Linked DNA regions of Homo sapiens: all the other regions are linked to region 1. The links are contacts of gene promoters, found by promoter capture Hi-C in blood cells and fetal thymus (Javierre and others, 2016). All regions are on one chromosome and are shown on one strand. Each heading gives the region's core, a stretch centred on a gene start or on the middle of the fragment in contact. The rest is flanking DNA. Distances are from core to core; before and after follow the strand shown. Region 1 holds the start of SETD3 (SET domain containing 3, actin N3(tau)-histidine methyltransferase). Region 2 overlaps AK7 (adenylate kinase 7). Region 3 overlaps AK7 (adenylate kinase 7).

Evidence for each region. The method cuts DNA at HindIII sites, captures the fragments that hold promoters and counts their contacts. A CHiCAGO score of 5 or more calls a contact.
Region 2: a contact is called between a fragment that was not itself captured here and the fragment with the promoter of SETD3 in region 1, in 10 of 17 cell types (neutrophils, non-activated CD4 T cells, naive CD4 T cells and 7 more). The highest score is 13.4, in neutrophils.
Region 3: a contact is called between a fragment that was not itself captured here and the fragment with the promoter of SETD3 in region 1, in 1 of 17 cell types (naive CD4 T cells). The highest score is 6.7, in naive CD4 T cells.

What each region holds. Positions count from the first base shown.
Region 1 is chr14:99,478,863-99,482,781 of GRCh38, forward strand. SETD3 (SET domain containing 3, actin N3(tau)-histidine methyltransferase) reads right to left here and starts at 1,997. Exons shown (of 13, transcript NM_032233.3): 1 at 1,866-1,997. It overlaps CCNK (cyclin K), which reads left to right and starts at 2,547. Exons shown (of 11, transcript NM_001099402.2): 1 at 2,547-2,617. RefSeq lists enhancers at 1,128-1,629, 2,438-2,807 and silencers at 1,478-1,677, 1,788-2,247. The HindIII fragment of the contact is 7,554 bases long and covers 159-3,919 here.
Region 2 is chr14:96,398,088-96,402,006 of GRCh38, forward strand. AK7 (adenylate kinase 7) reads left to right here. Exons shown (of 18, transcript NM_152327.5): 2 at 1-176. Among named protein-coding and RNA genes, the nearest start is that of AK7, 7.9 kb to the left of the region's middle. The HindIII fragment of the contact is 3,151 bases long and covers 77-3,227 here.
Region 3 is chr14:96,475,805-96,479,723 of GRCh38, forward strand. It overlaps AK7 (adenylate kinase 7), which reads left to right. Exons shown (of 18, transcript NM_152327.5): 15 at 2,661-2,858. Among named protein-coding and RNA genes, the nearest start is that of PAPOLA-DT, 25 kb to the right of the region's middle. The HindIII fragment of the contact is 1,371 bases long and covers 1,536-2,906 here.

The DNA of each region.
Region 1 (3,919 bases), core at 747-3,246:
AATAGGAAAAATATCACCTCCATATTTTTCTCATTATCCAGTGGCTTCTAAAGCAAAAGCTTAATTATCATTTAAAATGTGGCCTAAATGTCCACGGCACGGAAGAGCAGCGCAGCAGCCATCACTTTCTTACTGACAGTCACTGTGCTCTTACGAGAAGCTTTCGCTATAACCGTACATACAGACATAAGATGTTCTAATCTTCAAATCCAACACCACTCCAATTCCAGGAAAAAAAAGCACTGAGATGTTAGCACACTGGAGAAGCAACCATTTTACTCCTTCAGACTACAGTTCCATTTCAGATATTAACTTACAATCACTTGGAGGGCAGACAGGAAAGGGGTAGCAGAAGGCTAAAATCCAAGGTTGTCTGGGGTCCCAATAAAGAGGTTCTGTAGCTGTTTGAGAACTTGGCTTTGCAAACTACTTTCTTAGGCCGAAGAAAAACTCCTCGGTAAACTGTTGGAATTTCACCAAAGTATCAATCACGGCAGCCCTTGGGACTAATCCAGTACTGCTGGACTTTCACGCATGGTAGCCCGTATAAACACAGTACATACAGCAAGGTTCAAGCAAGTCTTGGCAAATTTTAACAGTGGAGAGGAAGACTGCTTTATTTTGCTATATTCTTGGGTTAAATGTATTCGCTTAAAATAATAAACACTTCTCCGAGATTATTACTGGTTAGTTCAGTTTTGAAATACTGGCAAGGTCATTTCAAGAAGAAAAACGGGAGAGGGAGAGGTATATTTTACATAAGATAAAATTCACACTTTTCAGTGTCCGGTTCTGAGTTCTGACAAACGCATTTATAGTGGCCTCATCAGCACCACAATCAGGCTACGAAGATGGGGTAACTCTTCGAGGATTCTTAAAAGCAAAATTGATTTGTCAGCATACTTTAAAAGTATTTTTGCTTTTGAAACATCACCTTATTTATTTAGAAAAGCAAAATAACACGGTCCGAGTGGTCCTAACCCGCGAATGCCTTTGCAACACTGAAATGCCCTCCTCCCAACACCGGCCGGGCAGGGGTGAGCCCCGCAGCCAGGGGCGCGCGTCACTGTCAGCTCCTTTTCCCAAGTGGAGACCGGGAAAAGACAAGAGTTGCATCGCCGGGCTGGAGCCACGAGGAGGAAGAGTTAACGCCGGAATGACAAACTCTAAAGCACCGAATTGCCTCTCCCTAGTAGGGCACTGCGCGTGTGGAGCACGGCCAGGGGCGCGTGGGAAGAAAGACGACCTATTTCCTACGTCCGTCTTCCTAACTGGACGGCGCGGGAGGAGGCGGGGGCTGGTCCCCGGGCACCCTGGTGGGCACCGAGAACTCGCAGAGAGGAACATAAAACCGCACAGCCTTCCCCGAGCAGCGGGGTGACGGGAGGAAGGAAGGAAATGGGAGCGCGACCCGGCCGCGCGCAGAGCCGAGCCGACTAGCGCGAGGGGCCCGGGCCCCACCCGAGAGCAGGCGCGAGGGCCGGGGACAGCGGGGCAAGCTCGGGGAGAGCGCTGCCTGCACCTGGCACCACCTCGAGACCGGGTGGCGCGGGGCCCGGGAGCGTGGGCGCCAGAGGGGACAGGGCAGCGGCGAGCGCGCGCCTCTCGCCCCGCAGGGCGCCCGGGCAGAGGCCGACCGGCGCCCTCCGACCCCGCCGGGCCCTCCTCGCCCTGGCCCCCGAGCGCACACCTGCCCCTTCAAGCCCCGGGGCCACAGCGGCCGGCGGGGACCCTGGCGGGGGCGCGGGCCGGACTTCGGCCGAGGGGCGCTGGCCAGGGCGAGGGACGGCCTCGCAGAGCTCGGAGACGCGGCGCGAGTTTCCCCCGCGGGCCGCGCGGGCGCAGAGACCGCCGCCAGCACTCACCTGCCCGCTTCCCCTAGCGCAGCGGGAACGACGTACTCCGGCCCGGACCCCGCCGTCCGCCTCAACCAACCCCCAGGCGGTGGCGGCGGTGGCGGCGGCGGCGGCCGGACGGGAGGGGCGGGACGGCAGCCTGAGACGGCCCCGCGACCGCGGCCCAACGCTTCTCCTCCCGCCCCGGACCCCGCCCCCGGGCCGCAGCCGCCGCCGTTCATTGGCCCACGCTTCGGACGCATGGGCGCGGCCCCGCCCCGCCACCCAGCCGGCGTTCCGTTCGGGGTCCTCCCCAGCCAGTGGGCTGGCAGCTCCCGGGGGCAAGAGCGGCCGGCTCAGCCGCCGCCAACCACGATGTCGCAACTGGCTGCGTTCGCCCCCGCCAGAGCTTTGATTGGACGAATCTCGACCCGGGCCCCGCCTACGCGCCCAAGTTCCGTTAGCAGGTTCGGTTGCTCCAGAATGCCTTTTCGCCCCGAGGGGCGGGACCGACGGGATGGGCCCTGTGGCTGGCTCCTCCCTCTGTAAGCAGCAGCCACTGACCCGCGGGGCGGGCGGGGAGGAGAGCGGCGGCTCGTTCCTCTTTTGAGAGCTCTGCTTTCTTCCCATTGGTTGACAGGCATCCTACTCTCTCCGCCCCTCCGGTCGCTTGGTGGCGTCTCAGGACGCAGCGTGATGACGTAGGTCCCCGACATTCCATATACAAGATGGCCGCAGTCGGCAAGGAGAGACGTCGCTGAGGGGCTTGCCTGAAGCGAGGGGTGAGTGACCCACCGACTGAGGGCAGCGCCGCCCACCTCCCGCGTATCTGGAGGTCGGAGTAGGTTATGGCCAACCGCCGCTATCCACTGGCGGAGTCTCTCTTTCCGGATTCTGCCTCCCTCCGCTAACCTCCGGTACACATTGAACTTTGCGGGCGACGCGGGGTTGTGGGGCGGGCGTGTAGAGAGGGTCTGAGGCGCCGGGGCGGGGCAGGGAGGCCGGACTCACCCTAGAACTGGTAGCGGCCCTCGCACTGGGGGGCAGTCAGAGTTGGGGAACTTTCTAGGGGTTGGGCAAAAGGGGCAGCGGTGTTAACCGCGCACAGTCTCACAGCCACAGACTTCTCATATCTCCCCGATTATTTCGCGGCGTATTAGTCCCAACCTTGGCTAGGCCTGAAACTTTTTGGAGGTTGTTCCATGTCTAGGGTACTCCGACTTTGGAGTTTTGGAGAGCCACGTAACGAGGGTGCGGCTAAGATGAGGAAAAGGCACTTCCGGGATTAGATTTCGTTCTTGCCCAGACATCGTCTTTACGGACCCGCTCCTGGTGGTTGATTTGGTTTGTTATGAGAGAAATTGTTCTTTAGAAAATTGGAGCGTAAGTCTAGAGGTTATGTGACAGCTCCTAAACGATTGTCTGCCCAAGATAGGCTCGGTAATGCTCCCTAAATTTAGACTGCCAGTTAAACGGAGCTTTCGCTAAGTCATCTGAGGTTAGGAACTATTTCTAAGAGCATTTCTTAAGGGTGGTCTTCTGTGTTTTTAAGAGAAACTTGGTGATGTTTGTGTATCTCGATCTAAATCGCTGTTTACAGATACCTAGCACAATGCCTTGCAGTTGTAGGTGCCCGCTAAAGGTTTGTATGAATGATGTTGCTAGAATGAAAGCGAGGAGCTTTCAGCGCCTAGAACACTGCCTGACGTTTAATAAGCCCTCTGTATTGCTGAATGAAAGAATGGATGGATGATGGTAGTGGTAGTAGTATTGATAGACATTTGGATTAAAGTGCCCTTAGGATGCTTACCTGTTAAATAATCTTGACTATGAATATAATAATTATCCAAGATTGTCTTATTCAGAGTGACCACCGCTGGTGTCTTTTAGGGTTTTTTTCCCTCTTTTATCTCATTTCGATTATATTGTGATGCATTATTCAAGCATATTAGTTGATTTCTGGGCAAATCCTGTTTAAATTTGTTCCATTTTGAAAATGTAGTTTGCACTAACAAGCAATAAAAACTATTCGAGTTGTTAATGAGGTTCTTAAATTTTAAATGCTGTTTCTAAAATTGAATGTC
Region 2 (3,919 bases), core at 402-2,901, 3.1 Mb before region 1:
GTGTAGTTGGGGCTTCGCTTGAAGAAATTACAGAGGAAGAGGAAGAGGAAGATGAAAATAAGTCAGCTATGCTGGAAGCTTCCTCAACCAAAGTGAAGGAAGGCACATTCCAGATTGTGGGCACGCTGTCCAAGCCTGACAGCCCGCGGCCTGACTTTGCGGTGGAGACGTACTCTGTAAGTCCCGGAGGCTCTGGCCAGGAGTAGACAGAGGGAAGAGTCACCTTCCGCTCCAACGCCTTGACAACTTGTTTTACTGTTTGCCTCCCCTCCCCTCTCTTCCACAGACATGGCCAGGTTGAGGGAATGGCTTTCTCCTGTAATGGAGATTTACCTCACAGACCCCACTTTTAATTTTCGGCCAAAGCAAAGAGTTTAAATTAGATAGTGTTGGAAAGGATGGATCTAAGTTGGACTTTCAGACTCATACAGTTCTCCTCTTCAGCATATTCTGCCTTGCATTATCCAAGACGAGTCTGTGCCATGATGGGTGCCATCTGTGAAGGAGAAATAGGCCAGGCGCGGTGGCTTACGCCTGTAATCCCAGCACTTTGGGAGGCTGAGGAGGGAGGATCGCTTAAGGCCAGGGGTTCGAGACCAGCCTGGGCAACATAGCAAGATCCTGTCTCTTATATTTATGAAAATAATTTTTTAAGAGAAACATCCTTTGGTAATGCACCACTCAGGAATAATATACCACTGCTGTCTCCAGAAACAATGCTGTCTCCACGTGACAAATTCAACACAGTCCTAGTCCTGAGACATTTAAATGTCTGAGAAGAAGTGGCCCTCTTCTTCTCCTGGGCCAACTCCTCCCTTACCCTGCCTGCTACTCTCTGGAGCCTACCATACAGCTTTCCACATGCTGTACCCTGGAGTGGCCTTCTCTCTTTTTTTTTTTATTCATCCTTCAAGAGTTGTGTCTCTTCCTCCAGGAAGCCGTTCATGATTCCTACTTCTCCCTCACTCCCAGTTTGGATTCTGAGCTCTTTTCTGAGCTCCCATATCATCCTTTGCCTGCCTAGATCATAGTGCTTTTCACACTCGTTGTTATCACCTGTCTATCGTGGGGGTCCATGGACACTGACTGTCAGCTCCTTGAGGGTGGAGACCGTGACTTGTTTATCCCTGTGTTTATCCATGTATCTGTGGCACCTAACACAGCCACTGCCACAAAGTGGCCTCAATAAACACTTGTGGAATGGACGAATGCATCCCCTCCAGACATCTTTGGGACCTTCCCATTCACCTCCTTCCCCTGTCTTCCGGGTATTCTTTCCCATTCACCTCCCTTCTCTCTCTTCTTGCCACTGGCTTCTTCCTCTATACCTACACATATGCTCAAATCATTCCTGCTGTAAAAAACACTTAACTTGGCCTCCCTGCTGGCCACCAGCCTCTTTCTCTGCCCCGGCCCCTGCCACCACTGAACTTCAGGAGACCAGCCGCATTTGCAGGTCTCACCCCTTCACCCCCGCCATTCACTGGTCTATCCAATGCTGGCTGGCCCTGCCCACAACACTTCACAGGAGGTGCCCTGGCCGATGTCACCAGCAGTCCCCTGACTCCCGAGGGGCTTAGCTCACCTGGCTTCACAGCAGCAGCCTGGCTTCCCGAGAGAAACTCGCCTTCCCTTCTTGTGCCTCGGCTCTGCACTGACTAAGCGCCCAAGTCCTCCTTCCCAGCTTCTTTCTCTGGCTCCTTTTCCTCTTTTACCCTTTAAATGCGGTTTTCCCCAGAGCTCACTCCCTTCCTACAACAGATGACCTTCCTAAATCTTATCCAACCCTATAGCTTCAGCTCCCCATATAGCCAGTGCTTTTTTTGCCTGTCTGCAGCCTCCAAATCCGACTGCCTCCTAGACCAGTCCCCGGTTGTCCTGCAGGCATTGCTGAATCAACATATCCAAAATCATATTTATTAGACCCCGCTACAAAAACAATCTTTTTTTTTTTTTTTTTTTTTTTTTTGAGATGGAGTCTCACTCTGTTGCCCAGACTGAAGTGCAGTGGCGCGATCTCGGCTTACTGCAACCTTCGCCTCCTGGGTTCAAGCGATTCTCCTGCCTCAGCCTCCCGAGTAGCTGGGACTACAAGCGCGTGCCACCACACCCAGCTAATTTTTTGTATCTTTAGTGGATACATGGTTTCACTAAGTTGTCCAGGCTGGTCTTGAACTTCTGGTCTTAGATGATCTGCCCACCTTGGCCTCCCAAAGTGCTGGGATTACAGGCCTGAGCCACCACGCCCGGCCCAAAACCACTCTTTGTATGACTTTGTACTACTGATTTTTATTAAAGACCTTGCTATCTCTATCAATTGGGGCTGTGTTGGACCGCATGTAATAGAAAACAGAGGTGACCCAAACTGGCTTAATAAATAAGGAAATTCATCAGCTTATGTAGCTAGTGGCCCAGAAGTGGAACCGGCTTCAGAGCTGATCCACAGGCTCCAGCTCCTCTTCCTGCCCCTTCCTGGGCTCTGCCCTCCTTGAGGGATGACTTTATCTTCAGGCTGGCAGTAAGGCTGCAACAGTCCAGGGCCTTAGTTCATACACAGTGACGCTCTGGCAAAGCAAACTTCCAGAAGGTCTCAGAGAAAGGACGATGGACATTGCCAGCAGTCCCTGGCAAGCATCTCTTTGAGTCTCACTGTCGTGAATGGAATCATTGTCCCTTTCCTGAGCCAGTCACTTACCCTTAGATCAATTAGGCTCATCCTTTAAGCCAGAAGAGGGAGTTAATTTCCCGCAGGCTGAGGAGTATCTGAAGCAAAATTGGGGTTCTGTTGGAGAAAAGGAAGAGGAAATGTAAGTTTGTAGACAACGAATAGTGTCTTTTATCCCGTTCATTATGCACTCGCCTTCCATCAAAGCTGAAAACCTCAGAGAGCTGTGGGCTCTTCCCTTGCCCTTGACTCCTGAATCCTATTGGTCACGGGGTCCTCAGCACACCTCTCTGTCAGGTGTCCAGTCAGCCCCTCCTTTCCATTCTCATAGCCATGTGCCTTAGTCCTGATCTCCAGCATCTCTCACTACTCACCTGAATTTGATTCTGCGAATGTTTCCTGTGCACCCTAATGATCCACAGATGAACGTGGAGCTCACGGCTTGGCAGGGACTCTGTGACAGTAGATGTGGGGACAGAGGCATGCACAGAGCATCACCCAAGGCTCTCTGAAAGGGGCACCTAAGGAATTCTCAGTCTTATCTAGAGAGACAGGCAAATGAAGCTTCAAATCCCTCCTGCCAAACAGATCGGGGCCTCCTGTGCTCTGATCTTGAGATCCTGGAGCCTCCATTAGCACAAAGTCCTGCAGATGGCCCTCCCTTGGAAGGTTGGGATCTACTGGAGATGGTGGGGCTGAGGCTGGTCTTCCGTGGTTGAGTGGAGCTTGCAAGACAAGTAAGGGAGGAAGGAAACACCATGCAAGGGGGAATGCCTGGGAAAGTATATGGTGCGCTGTGGCAGAGAAAGAGCATGGGTTATGGGAACCACAGGGAAGACACAAAGGTGGCAGAAAAGGTGGGGGAGAGTGCTCGCTTCAGCGGCACATATGCTCAAATTGGAATGATACAGAGAAGACCAGCAAAAAATGAATAAAAGGTGAGGGAAAGGTGAGAATGGAAACCGTTAGCCTGGTTCAGGTTATGAAAGGTGCCTCTACCTGGCTCAACAAGTCACCTGCTATTCCCTGAGCATTCTGGGCTCTGCCAGGTGAGCTTGTATTCATCCTTCCAGCCCAACTCAAATATCTTCTCCTATGAGACAAAATCATGTCTTTCTCTTAGTCCATTGAATCTCAGATGTACCTCTATGACAGCCCTTTCCACATTTGGGTCTTCTGTGTCTGGCTGTACAGGTTGCACACTGTACAAGAGTGCCTGGCTAAGGGCGTGAGTAGGGGCTGAAGAGCAGCCTG
Region 3 (3,919 bases), core at 971-3,470, 3.0 Mb before region 1:
TCCACACACACAAAAACATTCTTAATTAGCTGGGTGTGGTGGCATGTGCCTGTGGTCCCAGCTACTCAGGAGGCTGAAGTGGGAGGATCTCTTGAGCCCAGGAGGTCAAGGCGGTGGTGAGCCTTGATCATGCCACGGCACTTCAGCCTGGGTGACAGTGAGACCCTGTCTCTTAAAAAAAAAAAGAAAAAAAAAAAGAAATCAAAGCATAAGATACAGAAAATAAAAGAAACACATTCCAATCTATGGTAATACAGTTCTAGATGGTATTCTCTCCCATTGAGCAACCATTGCATTTTACCACTGCTGTTAGCCTATGTCCAGTTTGATTCTTTGAAGACCTCTTGGTTGAAGGAGATAAGTTTAAAGTTGTACCTACCTGATTAATATTTGGAAATTTGTTAAAACATAGCTTTTTCAGCCCAGCGCAGTGGCTCACACCTGTAATCCCAGCAATTTGGGAGGCCGAGGTGGGCAGATCACCTGAGGTCAGGAGTTCAAGACCAGTCTGGCCAACATGGTGAAACCCCATCTCTACTAAAAATATAAAATTAGCCAGGCACGGTGGTGCACGCCTATAATCCCAGCTACTTGGGAGGCTGAGGCAGGAGAATCACCTGAACCCGGGAGGCAGAGGTTGCAGTGAGCCAAGATCGCGCCACCGCACTCCAGCCTGGGGGACAAGAGCGAGACTTTGTCTCAAAAAAAAAAAAAAAAAAACCATAGATTTTTCATGTGATTCCAGATAGCCAAATACAGTGACCTCCTTGTTATCTACGGTCTTACCAAGCAGAAATCTATTACTCGCTATCCACAGTTAGCCAGTGCAAGGACAATAGATGTTCTGAATAACTGTCTTGAGATACTGCAGAATCTTGAAGTTCTCTGAGTCATAAAGAGAATGAACATTTTTTTAAAAATCATCTAGTGAGAAGTATATTTTATCATATTAAAAATCTTTGAAAATTGGAAAGCCAAGGATGTTACTCATTATTTGATTAACTGGAATCTTCCACCTCCTGATCAGCCTGGAAGAAAGATAGAATATATTTTTGAAATTCATAGATTATTAACATAGTTCATACATTTTCTAACAAATGAGTATCATGTTAGGGAAAAATCTAAAAAGAAAATAAGTTTTCATATAGATGTCCGACATCATAGAGCTTAAATGGATTCAATTTTCAGCGAATCTGTTGACATCCTTTTGATTTCAGTACCGTACCAGCATTTGAGGCTTCATATGTCTACCTTCCTTTTCAAAAGGCAGCCACTCATGAAAATCATGACAATCAAATGGTAAAAGATGAGCAAAAAATAGGAACAACTTACTTGCGAAAACACCTCTTGTATGCAGAATGGAGGTAGTATCAAACTATTATGAATTTATAGGATCTTATTCCACACGCTGTCTCAGCCTTTGTTTTCACAGTTAACATCTGCAGCAGATGATGTTCACACATGTCCACATGCCTCGGGGACACACCTCCTGTGGGCTTTCCCCATTACACTTACCTTTTTCACCCACTCAAGGAAGCTTATTAGAATGCAAGTAAACGAGAATGGCATTATGATGTTATAAGCCAATACAATTTTAGAACAAAAATCAAATCATTCCCAAGTTCTGTTGAGCTCTAATAGATAGCAAGCTATTTGTGATGCACCCAGACACTGATCTGGGCACCAGTATACCCTGCTCCTGTAGTTGAGAACATCTAAGAATCACAACTCACCTTGGAAAGTTTATTTCACTGATCCACACTTAAATCTCTCATTCACTCAACAATTATCTATTGAATTTGTACTAGAAGCTGGAGGAACAGCTGCTTTCACAGTTTAAAAGAAAATCACAGATGGGTAAAATGGTCATCATTATTAACATGATCTGTGTGTTGAATTTGATAAGTGCTGACCATAACATGTTGTACGTAAGTGTTTCATAGCCAATGGCATTGATGAAAGAGCTGGATCCATGAAAATTCCAAGGGGAGTTCCCATTTTATTAATTTGGCAAACTGGCCATCAAAGCATTTTGCTTGTAGCCATAGCTCTCTTTGGAAGCCTGTGATAATTGTGCTGGATAGGAGGCAGCGTGAGGCCAGGAGCCGTGGCTTATCCCTGCCAGCACTTTGGGAGGCCAAAGCGGGAGGATTGCTTAAGGCAAGAATTTGAGATCAGCCCGCACATAGTAAGACCTTGTATCTCTCTAAAATAAATATACATACATATAAGTATGTATTTTTTAAAAAAGAGAAAAGAGACAATGTGAAAATTAACTAGGAAGCTGATATCACAGGGTTATCTGAGATTTGCTACTTATGATTTCTGCTGCTTTTATTAGTTAGAAAGGGAGGAAGGAAGGAAGGAAGGACAGAGGGAGGGCGGGGGAAGGGAGGGAGGAAGGAAGGAAGAGAGGGAGGGGGGAAGAAAGGGAAAATAATAGATTGCACAAAATACTAATTGGGCCTCATAGGGTGGTCTCTGGAAATGGGGTGATTTTCATCTATTTATCCTCCATGAGAGGCAGCAAAGCCAATTGGACAGGCTATTTGTGGCAACAGGAGGTCTTGGCTGGTAACCAGGGGGCCATGCGTTCTCCAGCACCCTGCTAGTTAGCTGCGCTGTATTGTGCCAACTCTGGAGTCTGTCCTTCTCCCCAGAATTCGTTTGTGCACTGGATGCTTCGGATGAGTTTCTGAAGGAGCGTGTGATAAACCTTCCTGAGAGCATCGTGGCGGGGACCCACTACAGCCAAGACCGATTCCTCCGGGCTCTGAGCAACTACCGGGACATCAATATCGACGATGAGACTGTCTTCAACTATTTTGATGAACTTGAAATTCACCCGATACATATTGGTATGAAATGAATTCAAGGATAATGTGAATGTCCAGGACCCCCAGCAAAGCTTGGTGCAGGTCTAGCTGTAATTGTGGGGCTGGGGGGAGGGTGGGGAGTGTAATCATGGGTTGGGGCACAGGAAGCCATGAAATACACAGGGCACTCCTCCTGGGGAGTCATTCTATGTGGGGATTTGGTGGTGGGAGGGTGTTATTATCGTATGAGAATTTATGGATATATTGTGAAGTCAAATGACAAATCCTTTTTTTTTTTTTTGTGGGGGGATGGAGTCTCGCTCAGTTGCCCAAGCTGGAGTGCAGTGGTGCAATCTTGGCTCACTGCAACCTCTGCTTCCCGGGTTCAAGCAATTCTCCTGCCTCAGCCTCCCAAGTAGCTGGAACTACAGGCACATGCCACCAGGCCTGATTAATTTTTTTTTCTTTTTTTTTGAGATGGAGTCTTGCTCTATTGCCCAGGCTGGAGTGCAGTGGCACCATCTCGGCTCACTGCAAACTCCGCCTCCCGGGTTCACGCCATTCTCCTGCCTCAGCCTCCCGAGTAGCTGGGACTACAGGTGCACACCACAGTGCCCGGCTAATTTTTTTGTATTTTTAGTAGAGACGGGGTTTCACTGTGTTAGCCAGGATGGTCTCGATCTCCTGACCTCGTGATCTGCCCGCCTCGGCCTCCCAAAGTACTGGGATTATAGGTGTGAGCCACCGTGCCTGGCCGACAAACTCTTTTTTTTTTTTTTTTAAAGAAATGTGTGTATGGTGCTGGCTGCTTGGGCCATTCCCCCAGGTTCCTTGGGAGCAGTGTTCTGTCCCTGTTAAATTATTGGGCACTGGTGCTCTTCCAGACCCTTTCCCAGCCTTCTGACTGGCCAGCCCATCCCCGTAGCTACCCAGAAGAGCAAATAGCTCTTCACTGCGTTCCTTCTTGTTTCCTGTAAACACAGCTCTGAGCTTAGCACACAGCAAGCACTCATGATCCCGCATCACGTCAGCCTCATCGTCACCATTATCATTCCTGGCTCCAGTTCTCAGCTTTCACAGCTGCTGCTACTTCCCTTGGCTTG